Regions from separate parts of the Homo sapiens genome. Here regions 1 and 2 are each linked to region 3. The links are contacts of gene promoters, found by promoter capture Hi-C in human tissues and cell types (Jung and others, 2019). All regions are on one chromosome and are shown on one strand. The core of a region is centred on a gene start or on the middle of the fragment in contact, and the rest is flanking DNA. Distances in the headings are between cores, read along the strand shown.

Region 1 (3,792 bases), core at 551-3,050, 600 kb after region 3:
CAGCCCTCGGGAGACTGCATTTTCCAAAAGTGGCTGCAACAATATCTTCCATCTGACATGTCCTTCTAGAACAGGTGTTCACAAACTTTTTCTGTTAAAAGCCATCCAGCACGTATTTTAGGATGTGTGGATCATTCGCTGTCTGACCTGACTACTCTATCACTGTGGCACAGCCCTGGGCGATGTGTACATGTACAGCCTTGTTTGTGTTTGAGAGGTGAGCCCATTCGGTGGTCTGAGGGCGATAGTTTGCCAATCTGTGCTCTAGAACTTTGCTGCTTCCCTTCAAGAGGTAGAGTCTAGGCCAGGTGCAGTGGCTCACACCTATAATCCCAGCACTTTGGGAGGCTGAGGTGGGAGGATCCCTTGAGCCCAGGAGTTTGAGACCAGCCTGGGAAACATGGTGAAACCCCATCTCCACAAAACAAAAAAAAAAAAAATTAGCCTGCTGTGGTGGCGTGCACCTGTAGTCCCAGCTACTCCAGAGGCTGAGGTTGGAGGATCACTTGAGCCCAGAAGGTCGAGGCTGCAGTGAGCCGTGATTGTGCCACTTAAACCACCCTAGGCGGCAGAGGGAGACCCTGTCTCAAAAAAACAAAAAGAAACAAACAAACTGGAAAAAAAAAAGAGGTGGACGAATTCCCTTTTCCTTGAATCCGAGAGGTTTGTGATTTGCCTATAATTAAGACAATTGGAAGGAAGTGACACTGCATGACCTCTGAGGCTAGATCAGAACAGGTGATGTAACTTTTACCAGTCAGCACATAAGTAGCCCAGCTGTCCTGAGGCTGCCATGCTGTAAGGAAGCCCAAGTGAGTCCATGTGAAAGACCACCTGAAAAGCCTTGAAACTGTAGGAGATGCTCAGCCAGCCCCACTTGCTCCAGCCCTCACCTGGAGAGACTGCAAGCTCAGGAGAGATGCTGAGCCAGAACTACCCCGCCAAAGCTCTCCCCAAATTCCTGACCCCCAGAGACTGAGAAGTGATGAGATGATTGCTTTAAGACATTAAGTTTTGGGGGTGATCCGTTGCATAGAAAGAAACAGAACATTTTCCCCAAACTAGTGAGTGGCAGAGATGGGATTCAAACTGAGGCTGGCCTGAGCCCAATCACCTGATCTTTCTATTAAAAATAAACAAAAAATACTGCTGGCTGGGGGCAGTGGCTTACACCTGTAATCCCGGCACTCTGGGAGGCCAAGGCAGGTGGATCACCTGAGGTCAGAAGTTCAAGACTAGCTTGACCAACATGGTGAAACCCCATCTCTAGTAAAAATATAAAAAATTAGCTGGGCGTGGTGGTGGGCGCCTGTAATCCCAGCTACTTGGGAGGCTGAGGCAGAAGAATCCGGGAGGTGGAGGTTGCAGTGAGCTGAGATCCCACCATTGCACTTCAGCCTGGGCAACACGAGTGAAACTCCATCTCAAAAAAAAAAAAAAAATTGTTGAAAACTGCTGACACAGAGACATGAAGTGAGCACATGCTGTTGGAAAAATGGTGTTGATAGACTTGCTCCATGCATGGTTGCCACAAACCCTTGATTTGTGAAAAACACATCTGCAAGGCCTGATAAAGAAAAGTGTAATTGCCGGGCATGGTGGCTCACTCCTGTAATCCCAGCACTTTGGGAGGCCAAGGCGGGTGGATCACCTGAGCTCAGGAGATCGAGACCAGCCTGGGCAACATGGTGAAACCCCATCACTACTAAAAATACAAAAAAATTAGCTGGGCGTGGTGGCAGGCGCCTGTAATCCCAGCTACTCAGGAGATTGAGGTAGGAGAATTGTTTGAACCCGGGAGGCGGAGGTTGCTGTGAGCCAAGATCGTGCCATTGCCCTCCAGCCTGGGTGACAAAAGTGAAACTCCATCTCAAAAGAAAGAAAGAAAGAAAGAAAAGCACAATTAAACAATGTGTGCCTGTATTTAAACCTATATTGGCTAGTGAGTTTGACCAGAGTCTAACAAAGGTTTATCAAGGAAAAATGTCAGAGAATTCAGATCCTGTAAGTCAAAGACACAACCTGTTCCAGGAAGGACTTTGCAACAGCAATTACTCTAACAAGTTACAATTCGCAGAGTCCGGCCTTTAAGGGGCTTTGAAGAGAGAGAAACCCATGAATCAATAATAAGATAAGGCTATTTGGTTTGTTTCAACTTGCGGGCTGTTTGACTTCCGTATCAAAGCCATGCCTTGAGAATGAAATCATTTCTGTCAAACAGCCCTTTCAAAGAACATCCGACACAAACACTCACTGGCTGCTCCTTTATTTCCACTGTGTCCAGGGTGTGTATGGACTTGGTGGAATTTAGGGGAATAGCTGTGAATTGTGCATCAAATAAATAACCTGCAGGGAGTTGGCACTGGTGACTGCTAGCCATAAATGTTGCTATTTGCTTACACAGGTTAAGCCTGGGCTTTTGGAGGCTTCTTTGACCTTTTCTGCCTTTTTCCCAACCCTAACCCAACATAGCTATGACAAGGCAGTTCTGGGCCGGGCAGGGTGGCTCACGCCTGTAATCCCAGCACTTTGGGAGGCCGAGACGAGCGGATCAGGAGGTCAGGAGACCGAGACCATCCTGGCTAACACGGTGAAACCCCGTCTCTACTAAAAATACAAAAAAATTAGCCGGGTGAAGTGGCGGGTGCCTGTAGTCCCAGCTACTCGGGATGCTGAGGCAGGAGAATGGTGTGAACCTGGGAAGCGGAGCTGGCAGTGAGCCGAGATCGTGTCACTGCACTCCAGCCTGGGTGACTGAGCGAGACTCCGTCTCAAAAAAAAAAAAAAGAGATGATTAAGTTAATTGGGTCATTAGGGTCATAATCCAATATGACTGGCGTCCTTCTAAGAAGAGAGACAGCAGGACCTACGTGCATAGACCAAGTGAGGACAGAGAGAGGCCAGCCACCCGCAAGCCACAGAGAGAGGCCTCAGAAGAAACCACCTTGCTGATACCTTGATCTTGGTCTCCCAGCTTCCAGAACTGTGAGGAAATAAGCTTCTGTTGTTTAAGGCACCCCATCTATGGTACTTAGTTATGGCAGCCCTAGCAAACTAACATACCCACAAACAGAGAATTCACAGCCTTAAGGCTGGGACTTCAGAAAAATTCCAAAGGTAATAAGCAGAAATTTCAACATGCAAGAGTCTAGCCTTTTAGCGCAGTTTCTCTTTCTGCATCTTTCCCAGGTGGCCTGCAGGCAGGATGGTAAAGCAGTGCTGGGGGCTGGGCAGGGGCGCTGCTGACCTGCAAGTCTAGTGGGGTCACTAAGGTCTCTTGACTCAAAAGGGAAGGGACCAGGGTTCCAGTCCTAGAAAGTCCAGAAAGTAGCAGGGAGACTGAGTAGGTGTTTGGTGCATGGTCAAGAGGCCCATATTGATGCAAGTCACTAACCCCTTCCCTCTTCTAGCCGCCCTAGTCCTTCCTTCTCTCCTCTTCTTCCAGTCTCTTTGACTTTTCCCACCACCCCGTCCTGCGACACTGCTTTATTATCAGGTAAGTCAGAAGAAGGGGAAAATTTGGCTTTACCTTCTGACTTAGCGTCATGCAAATCCTGATGCTCTTTTAGTTTTTTCCTTTTTTTTTTTTTTTTTTGGTGGGAGATATGGGATGGAAGGATATTTGCCGGAGTTGGTTTTTTTTTGTTTTTTGTTTTTTGAGATGAGGTCTTGCTATGCTGCCGAGGCTTAAGTGCAGTGGCTACTCATAGACCCCATCATTGCGCACTACAGCCTTGACCTCCTAGGCTCAAGGGATCCTCCCACCTCAGCCTCCTAAGTAGCCGGAACTAT
Region 2 (4,355 bases), core at 1,288-3,787, 690 kb after region 3:
TTTGGTTGGTAGGCTATTAATTACTGCCTCAATTTCAGAACTTGTTATTGGTCTATTCAGGGATTCGACTTTTTCCTGGTTTAGTCTTGGGAGGATGTATGTGTCTAGGAATTTATCAGTTTCTTCTAGATTTTCTAGTTTATTTGCGTAGAGGTGTTTATAGTATTCTCTCATGGTAGTTTGTATTTCTGTGGAATCAGTGGTGAGATCCCCTTTATCATTTTTTATTGTGTCTATTTGATTCTTCTGTCTTTCTTCTTTATTAGTCTGGCTAGTGGTCTATTTTGTTAATCTTTTCAAAAAACCAGCTCCTGGATTCATTGATTTTTTTTTGAAGGGTTTTTTGTGTCTCTATCTCCTTCAGTTCTGCTCTGATCTATTTCTTGTCTTCTGCTAGCTTTTGCATTTGTTTGCTCTTGCTTCTTTAGTTCTTTTAATTGTGATGTTAGGGTGTTGATTTTACGTCTTTCCCGCATTCTCCTCTGGGCATTTAGTGCTATAAATTTCCCTCTAAACACTTCTTTAGCTGTGTCCCAGAGATTCTGGTACGTTGTGTCTTTGTTCTCATTGGCTTCAAATAACTTATTTATTTCTTCCTTAATTTCATTATTTACCCAGTAGTCATTCAGGAGCAGGTTGTTCAGTTTCCATGTAGTCTTGTGGTTTTGAGTGAGTTTCTTAATCCTGAGTTCTAATTTGATTGCACTGTGCTCTAAGAGACTGTTATGATTTCTGTTATTTTGCATTTGCTGAGGAGTGTTTTACTTTCGATTATGTGGTCAATTTTAGAATAAGTGTGATGTGTTGCTGAGAAGAATGTATATTCTGTTGATTCAGAGTGGGAGAGTTCCGTAGATGTCTATTAGGTCCACTTGGTCCTAATAGACCAAGTCCTGAATTTCCTTGTTAATTTTCTGTCTCATTGATCTGTCTAATATTGACAGAGGGGTGTTTAAGTCTCCCACTATTATTGTGTGGAAGCCTAAGTCTCTTTGTAGGTCTCTAAGAACTTGCTTTATGAATCTGGGTGCTCCTATATTAGATGCATATATATTTAGGATAGTTAGCTCTTCTTGTTGCATTGACTCCTTAACCATTATGTAATGCCCTTCTTAGTCTTTTTTGATCTTTATTGGCTTAAAGTCTGTTTTATCAGAGACTAGGATTGCAACTCCTGCTTTTTTCTTGCTTTCCATTTGCTTGGTAAATATTCCTCCATCCCTTTATTTTGAGCCTATGTGTGTCTTTGCACATGAGTTTGGTCTCCTGAATACAGCACACCGCTGGGCCTTGACTCTTTATCCAATTTGCCACTCTGTGTCTTTTAATTGGGGCATTTAGCCTGTTCAAATTTAAGGTTAATACTGTTTGTGTGAATTTGATCCTGTCATTATGATGTTTCCTGGTTATTTTGCCCATTAGTTGAAGCAGTTTCTTCATAGTGTCAATGGTCTTTACAATTTGATATGTTTCTGCAGTGGCTGGTACTGGTTTTTCCTTTCCATCTTTAGTGCTTCCTCCAGGAGCTCTTGTAAGGCAGGCCTGGTGGTGACAAAAATCTCTCAGCATTTGCTTGTCTGTAAAGGATTTTATTTCTTCTTCACTTAAGAAGCTTAGTTTGGCTGGATATGAAATTCTGGGTTGAAAATTCCTTTCTTTAAGAATGTTGAATATTAGCCTCCACTGTCTTCTGGCTTGTAGGGTTTCTGCAGAGAGATCTGCTGTTAGTCTGATGGGCTTCCCTTTGTGGGTAACCCGACCTTTCTCTCTGATGATTATGTGTCTTGGGGTTGCTCTTCTTGAGGAGTATCTTTGTAGTGTTCTCTGTATTTCCTGAATTTGAATGTTGGCCTGTCTTGCTAGGTTAGGGAAGTTCTCCTGGGTAATATCCTGAAGAACGTTTTCCAACTTGGTTCCTTTCTCCCCATCACTTTCAGGTACACCAATCAAACATAAGTTTGGTCTTTTCACATAGTCCCATATTTCTTGGAGGCTTTGTTCATTCCTTTTCATTCTTTCTTCTCTAATCTTGTCTTCATGCTTTATTTCATTAAGTTGATCTTCAATCTCTGATATCCTTTCTTCCGCTTGATCGATTTGGCTATTGATACTTGTGTATGCTTCACGAAGTCCTCGTGCTGTGTTTCTCAGCTACATCAGGTCATTTATGTTCTTCTCTAATCTGGTTATTCTAGCTATCAATTCCTCTAACCTTTTTTCAAGGTTCTTAGCTTCCTTGCATTGGGTTAGAACACGCTCCTTTTGCTCGGAGGAGTTTGTTATTACCCAACTTCTGAAGCCTACTTCCATCAATTCGTCAAACTCATTCTCCATCCAGTTTTGTTCCCTTGCTGGCGAGGAGTTGTGATCCTTTGGAGGAGAAGAGGCATTCTGGTTTTCGGAATTTTCAGCCTTTTTGCACTGGTTTTTCCTCATCTTCGTGGATTTATCTACCTTTGGTCTTTGATGTTGGTGACTTTCAGATGGGGTTTTTGTGTGGATGTCCTTTTTGTTGATGTTGATGCTATTCCTTTCTGTTTGTTAGTTTTCCTTCTAACCTGCCCTCTGCTGTAGGTCTGCTGGAGTTTTCTGGAGGTCCGCTCCAGATCCTGTTGCCTGGGTATCACCAGCGGAGGCTGCAGAACAGCAAAGATTGCTGTTCTTTCCTCTGGAAGCTTCATCCCAGAGGGGCATCTGCCAGATGACAGCCAGAGCTCTCCTGTATGTGGTGTCTGTTGACTCCTGCTGGGAGGTATCTCCCAGTCAGGAGGCATGGGGGTCAGGGACCCACTTGAGGAAGCAGAGTGTCCCTTAGCAGAGCTTGAGCACTGTGCTGGGAGATCCACTGCTCTCTTCAGAGCTGTCAGACAGAAACGTTTAAGCCTGCTGAAGCTGTCTCCATAGCTGCCCCTTCCCCCAGGTGCTCTGTCCCAGGGAGATGGGAGTTTTACTTATAGGCCCCTGACTGGGGCTGCTGCGTTTCTTTCAGAGATGCCCTGCCCAGAGAGGAGGAAGCTAGAGAGGCAGTCTGGCTACAGTGGCTTTGCTGAGCTGCGGTTCAAACTTCCCCATGGCTTTGTTTACACTGTGAAGGGAAAACTGCCTACTCAAGCCTCAGCAATGGTGGACGCCCCGCCCCTGACCAAGCTCAAGCGTCCCAGGTGGACTTCAGGCTGCTGTTCTGGCAATGAGAATTTCAAGCCAGTGGATCTTAGCTTGCTAGGCTCTCTGGGGGTGGGATCCGCTGAGCTAGACCACTTGGCTCCCTGGCTTCAGCCCCCTTTCCAGGGTAGTGAAAGATTCTGTCTCGCTGGTGTTCCAGGCACCACTGGGGTATGAAAAAACTCCCGCAGCTAGCTAGGTGTCTGTCTAAATAGCCACCCAGTTTTTGTGCTTGAAACCCAGGGCCCTGGTGGTGTAGGCACCCAAGGGAATCTCCTGGTTTGCGGGCTGTGAAGACCATGGGAAAAGCATAGTATCTGAGCCGGAACGCACTGTTCCTCACAGCACAGTCCCTCAAGGCTTCCTTCGGCTAGGGGAGGAAGTTCCTCAACCCCTTGTGCTTCCCGAGTAAGGCAAAACCCCACCCTGCTTCAGCTCGCCCTCTGTGGGCTATACCCACTATCTAACCAGTCCCAGTGAGATGGGCCGTGTACCTCAGCTGGAAATGCAGAAATCACCTGCCTTCTGTGTTGATCTCACTGGGAGCTGCAGACTGGAGCTGTTCCTATTCAGCCATCTTGCCAGCCACCTAGCATTTTATTTTATTTTTTTAAAATTTTAATTGTTTTTTGAGACAGAGTCTCTGTCTGTTGCCCAGGCTGGAGTGCAGTGGTGTGATCTCAGCTCACTGCAAGCTCTACCTCCCAGGTTCACGCCATTCTCCTGCCTCAGCCTCCCGAGTAGCTGGGACTACAGGCGCCCACCACCACGCCCGGCTAATTTTTTGTACTTTTGGTAAAGACGGGGTTTCACCGTTTTAGCCAGGATGGTCTCTGTCTCTTGACCTCATGATCCGCCCACCTCGGCCTCCCAAAATGGTGGAATTACAGGGGTGAGCCATCACGCCCAGCCGACTTTGTTGCCCAGGCTGGAATGCAGTAGTGGGATCATAGCTTACTGCAGCCTTGACCTCCTGGGCTTACGTGATCCTCCTGCTTCAGCCTCCTTAGTAGCTAGGACTACAGGAGTGCACTCTGCCATACCAGGCTAAGTTTTAAATTTTTTGTTGAGGTGGGGTTGTGCTATGTTACCCAGGCTGGTCTTGAATTCCTGGCTCAAATGATCTTCCAGGCTCGGCCTCCCAAAGTGCTGGGACTATAGGTGTGACCCACAGCACCTGGCCTGATGATGGC
Region 3 (3,911 bases), core at 1,136-3,635:
CCAGCTAGGCGTTACTGTGCTGATATATATTAGGAAATAAGTACCCAAGGCATAGAAAAATCGCTGACACAGAGAACCAAGCCATAATGTAATATTAATAAAAGTAAACATTTGACCCTTTACCACCTCTAACACGTGGCACCACCAGGAATATTCATCCATGCCTCACCATTCAGGGAAGGTAAGTGAGCTCACTCAGGAAGTGCCACCGTCTTCCAGGTCACTGGTAAGGACAAACTGCCTGCTGCGTCTACCTTCATTCAACAGACCTCGACCGAATCGCATCCCAAAGCCGGCTATGTGCTTGGAACTTACTGAGCAGCTATGGAGTTTGGCTTTCAGGAACTCTGGGTCCAGTCCTTAAAACCAAAAGTGCAATACAGGGCGATGAGAACTTCTATTGCTACATTCTCCTAGCAATAAAGAAGACAAAGCCCCAGCTGACTCTATTATTTGCTTCTTAACAGTGCTTTACTATAGTATTAAAGGGTTTTCAAACACTTCATTTCCAGCTTCTCTTAAGCATAATGCGTGCCTATTGACTCTCGACTGTGCCATCAAACGTTAAAACAGAACCTGTCGTTTCATTTCTAGCTTTCTATGGCTACCTCTATCAAAAGTTGGGCATGGAGATACCTTAAGTCTGGCTGGGGCGGTTGCTCACGCCTGTAATCCCAGCTCTTTGGGAGGCCGAGGGGGGCGGATCACCTGAGGTCGGCAGTTCGAGACCAGCCTGGCCAACATGGTGAAACCCCCGGTCTCTAATAAAAATACAAAAATTAGCTGAGTGTGGTGGCTCATGCCTGTAATCCCAGCTACTCGGGAGGCTGGGGCACAAGAATCGCTTTAACAGAGGAGGCAGAGATTGCAGTGATCGGAGATCGCGCAACTACACTCCAGCCTGGGCGACAGAGTGAGACTCTGTCTCGAAATAAAAGAGATACTTCAGTCTGACATACCACAATCAACTACAATGTAATTGGAGGGAAGAGCCGATGTTGGACGGCTATCACACGTGGCTTCACACTGTTCTTTTTCTTCTCTGGCTGGGTACGGCCTGAGGATGACTGCCCTCCAACAACTGAGGATGCTGCAGGAGGACCAGCCCAGCACCTGTCTCCATCCCCTGCACTGTGTGGCCGGCTCTGCCGCTTCTCCCCCGCTTCAGCATCACCTGCCACTTCTTCTCAATCTGAAGCCACTAAGAACGATCAACACCAGACCGTTAAAACATAAACCAGTATGGGCCACTAAATAATTCGTAAATATTTCAAAATGTATTTCAAAACCGACTTTGTATTGTCAAAACATTATAATCTAGCCAGGCCAAGTTTTAATAAACAGTAACACCCATCATCACTACTGGGTAAAGAACTTCATTCAACAGGACCTACCTTGACACCAAGTCTAGAGCCTCGTTTTCAATTAAAAAAAAAATGGGTAAGCCCCAAATGTGCATTAAAAATTAGTTTGGCCATTTACTAAGTAGTCCTTCAAAGCATTTCCAAGTATTCAGAGTTCCAGTACTTTTCGGAAAGGAAGGGTGATCTTTCTGGTACTGGTTTGCATAATTATGCCTAAAAAATGTCATCTTGAATTTTCAATGAAAAGAGTCTTAAAATGTTCAGGCGAGTGGAGAAAATGGTGATCCGCTGGCGTTAGAAGTGGACAGAGAGGCTCTCAGTACAAACTGTATCTGAACGTGTTCCTCACAAATTAAGATCTGCACCGGGGGCTGGGGGGCTTTGAGAAAACTAACCACATTTGAATCCGGTCCACACAGCTTGAAGGCGGAGGTACGGGGCAAAGCGCGGCGGGGAAGAAACACCAGCAACTCGGCGGCCCCCGCCTCGCCGCAGATCACGTGCCCGGCGCCCCCTCCCGCAGGGCCGGGGGCGGGATGGAGACGCGGCCTCCCGCGCGCCTTCCGCACTCCCCTCCGCGCCCCAAACCCAGGGGTAGGGGTGGTCTCGGGTAACCATCCCCAGGGCGGCGGCGAGGGAACTGCGCGGGTTCAGAGTCCTCAGCAGCCACCACTGACGCCCCGACGCCCCCGGCTCCCCGCGCACCCCGCCGGTCCGTCCTGCGGCGGCGGCGGTAGGGGCCGCGTCTACGTGGCGCGGTCGCGGCGAGGCGGGGACTGGGACGCGAGGACCGGGAAGCGGGGACCGCGGCGCGAGGAGGGGCGGCTCAACCCGCGCCGCCCCGGAGGGTCCCGGCCTCCGGCAGGACAGCCCCGGGCCCGCGCCAAGGGAAGCCCCCAGGCGCAGACACTCACCGCCAGCCCCGGAGGGACGCCTGCGAGGAGCCCGGCCCGCGCCCACTTACCCACAGGGGCTCCGCTCCCGGCCAGCGGGCGGCTGAGGGCAGGCGGCGGCTGGACTGCGACGGCTAGGACCCGCCGGGGAGGGAAGCCGAGGGGGCGGGGCCGGTCGGGGGCGCGCGCGGGGTCGGAGCGCCCGCAGCCGCCGCTGCCTTGGAAGCCGCCTGGGCCGCAGCTGAGTCGGGCGGCCCTCATGAATGGGACGCCGCGGCTGCGGCGGCCGAGCCGGCAGCTGGCGGGCGGGCAGCGCGCAGGCCCCGCCCCAGCCACGTGACGCGCGCTCCCGGCCGCGCGCCGCGCCCCCGCCGCCGAGCGCCAGGCGTGCGGCTTCTCACCGCTCCCAGTCCCTGGGCTGCGCGCCCGGGCCCCTGGCCAAGTGAGGGCGGGGCCTCGATTTTCTAGTGCCTCGGGCGACAGGAGCCTTACTTTGTTTTAAAAAAAAAAAGTTTCTTCCGGTCCCCATGGCAACCCTGCGGCAGGTCACGTGGGACTGAGAGCCCAATTGCCAAAAAGGAATGTTAAAGTGCAAAAAAAGTCTAGGGAATGAATGTTTTATAATCCCCTTTTGATCACTAGTAGCACATCTCCTTTGCTTACTTACATCTCCACCGAAAAAAAAAAAATCCTATTACACAACTCATTTTTAAAAATATGCCGGGGTTCTGTTGTTTTTTGTTTATTCTTTTTATCGCTCTGTTACCCCGGCTGGTCTCCAACTCCTGGGCTCAAGCATCCCCGCACCTCGGCCTCCCAAAGTACTGGAATTACAGGCATGAGCCACCGTCCCCAGCATTAAAATATACTTTTTAAGAAATGGGTGGCTCACGCCTGTAATCCTAGCACTTTGGAAGGCCGAGGCAGGCGGATCACTTGAGGTCAGGAGTTCAAGACCAGCCTGGCCAACATGGTGAAACCCCCGTCTCTACTAAAAATACAAAAAACCAGCCGGGCGTGGTGGCGCGTGCCTGTAATCCCAGCTTCTCAGGAGGCTGAGGCAGGAGAATCAGTTGAACCCGGGAGGCGGAGATTGCAGTGAGCCGAGATGGCGCTATTGCACTCCAGCCTGGCGACAGAGAGACTCCGTCTCAGAAAGAAAAGAAATGGGGCCCGGCGCGGTGGCTCACGCCGGTAATCCCAGCACTTTGGGAGGCCAAGGCGGGTCGATCGCCTGAGGTCAGGAGTTGGAGACTAGCCTGGCCAACGTGGCAAAACCCCGCCTCTACTAAAAATACAAAAATTAGCCGGGCATGTTGGCTGCAATCCCAGCTACTTAGGAGGCAGAGGCGGTAGAATCACTTGAACCCGGGGGGCGGAGGTTGCAGTGAGCAGAGATTGCGCCACTTCACTCCAGCCTGGGAGCGAAACTCTGTCTCAAAAAAAAAAAAAACAAAAAAAACTGGATTGCTGGTGCTATATACTATTGGTGCACACTGGTTTTTAATTTGCAGCCTATTCTATTACTATTCTATGATTGAAAGTAATGAACAGAAGCCTATGTTACTTCTATATAAATGGCAGTTAATTTATGAGGTGCATCTTGTGTGTGATCATTTATACAGTTCTAAGGGTACTGAAATAGGCATTTGCA

The links. The method cuts DNA at HindIII sites, captures the fragments that hold promoters and counts their contacts. A contact is called where the count stands out against the background at its distance.
Region 1: a contact is called between a fragment that was not itself captured here and the fragment with the promoter of LPIN2 in region 3, in 1 of the 25 tissues and cell types used here (thymus).
Region 2: a fragment that was not itself captured here is called in contact with the fragment with the promoter of LPIN2 in region 3 in 2 of the 25 tissues and cell types used here (IMR-90 fibroblasts and mesenchymal stem cells).

What each region holds. Positions count from the first base shown.
Region 1 is chr18:3,616,166-3,619,957 of GRCh38, forward strand. The region is part of intron 7 of DLGAP1 (DLG associated protein 1); the gene reads right to left. Among named protein-coding and RNA genes, the nearest start is that of DLGAP1-AS2, 14 kb to the left of the region's middle. The HindIII fragment of the contact is 4,989 bases long and covers 1-3,792 here.
Region 2 is chr18:3,696,835-3,701,189 of GRCh38, forward strand. All of the region lies in intron 7 of DLGAP1 (DLG associated protein 1), which reads right to left. Among named protein-coding and RNA genes, the nearest start is that of DLGAP1-AS6, 46 kb to the left of the region's middle. The HindIII fragment of the contact is 3,729 bases long and covers 674-4,355 here.
Region 3 is chr18:3,010,759-3,014,669 of GRCh38, forward strand. It overlaps LPIN2 (lipin 2), which reads right to left and starts at 2,386. Exons shown (of 20, transcript NM_001375808.2): 1 at 2,329-2,386. RefSeq lists a silencer at 1,827-2,776. The HindIII fragment of the contact is 11,400 bases long and covers 1-3,911 here.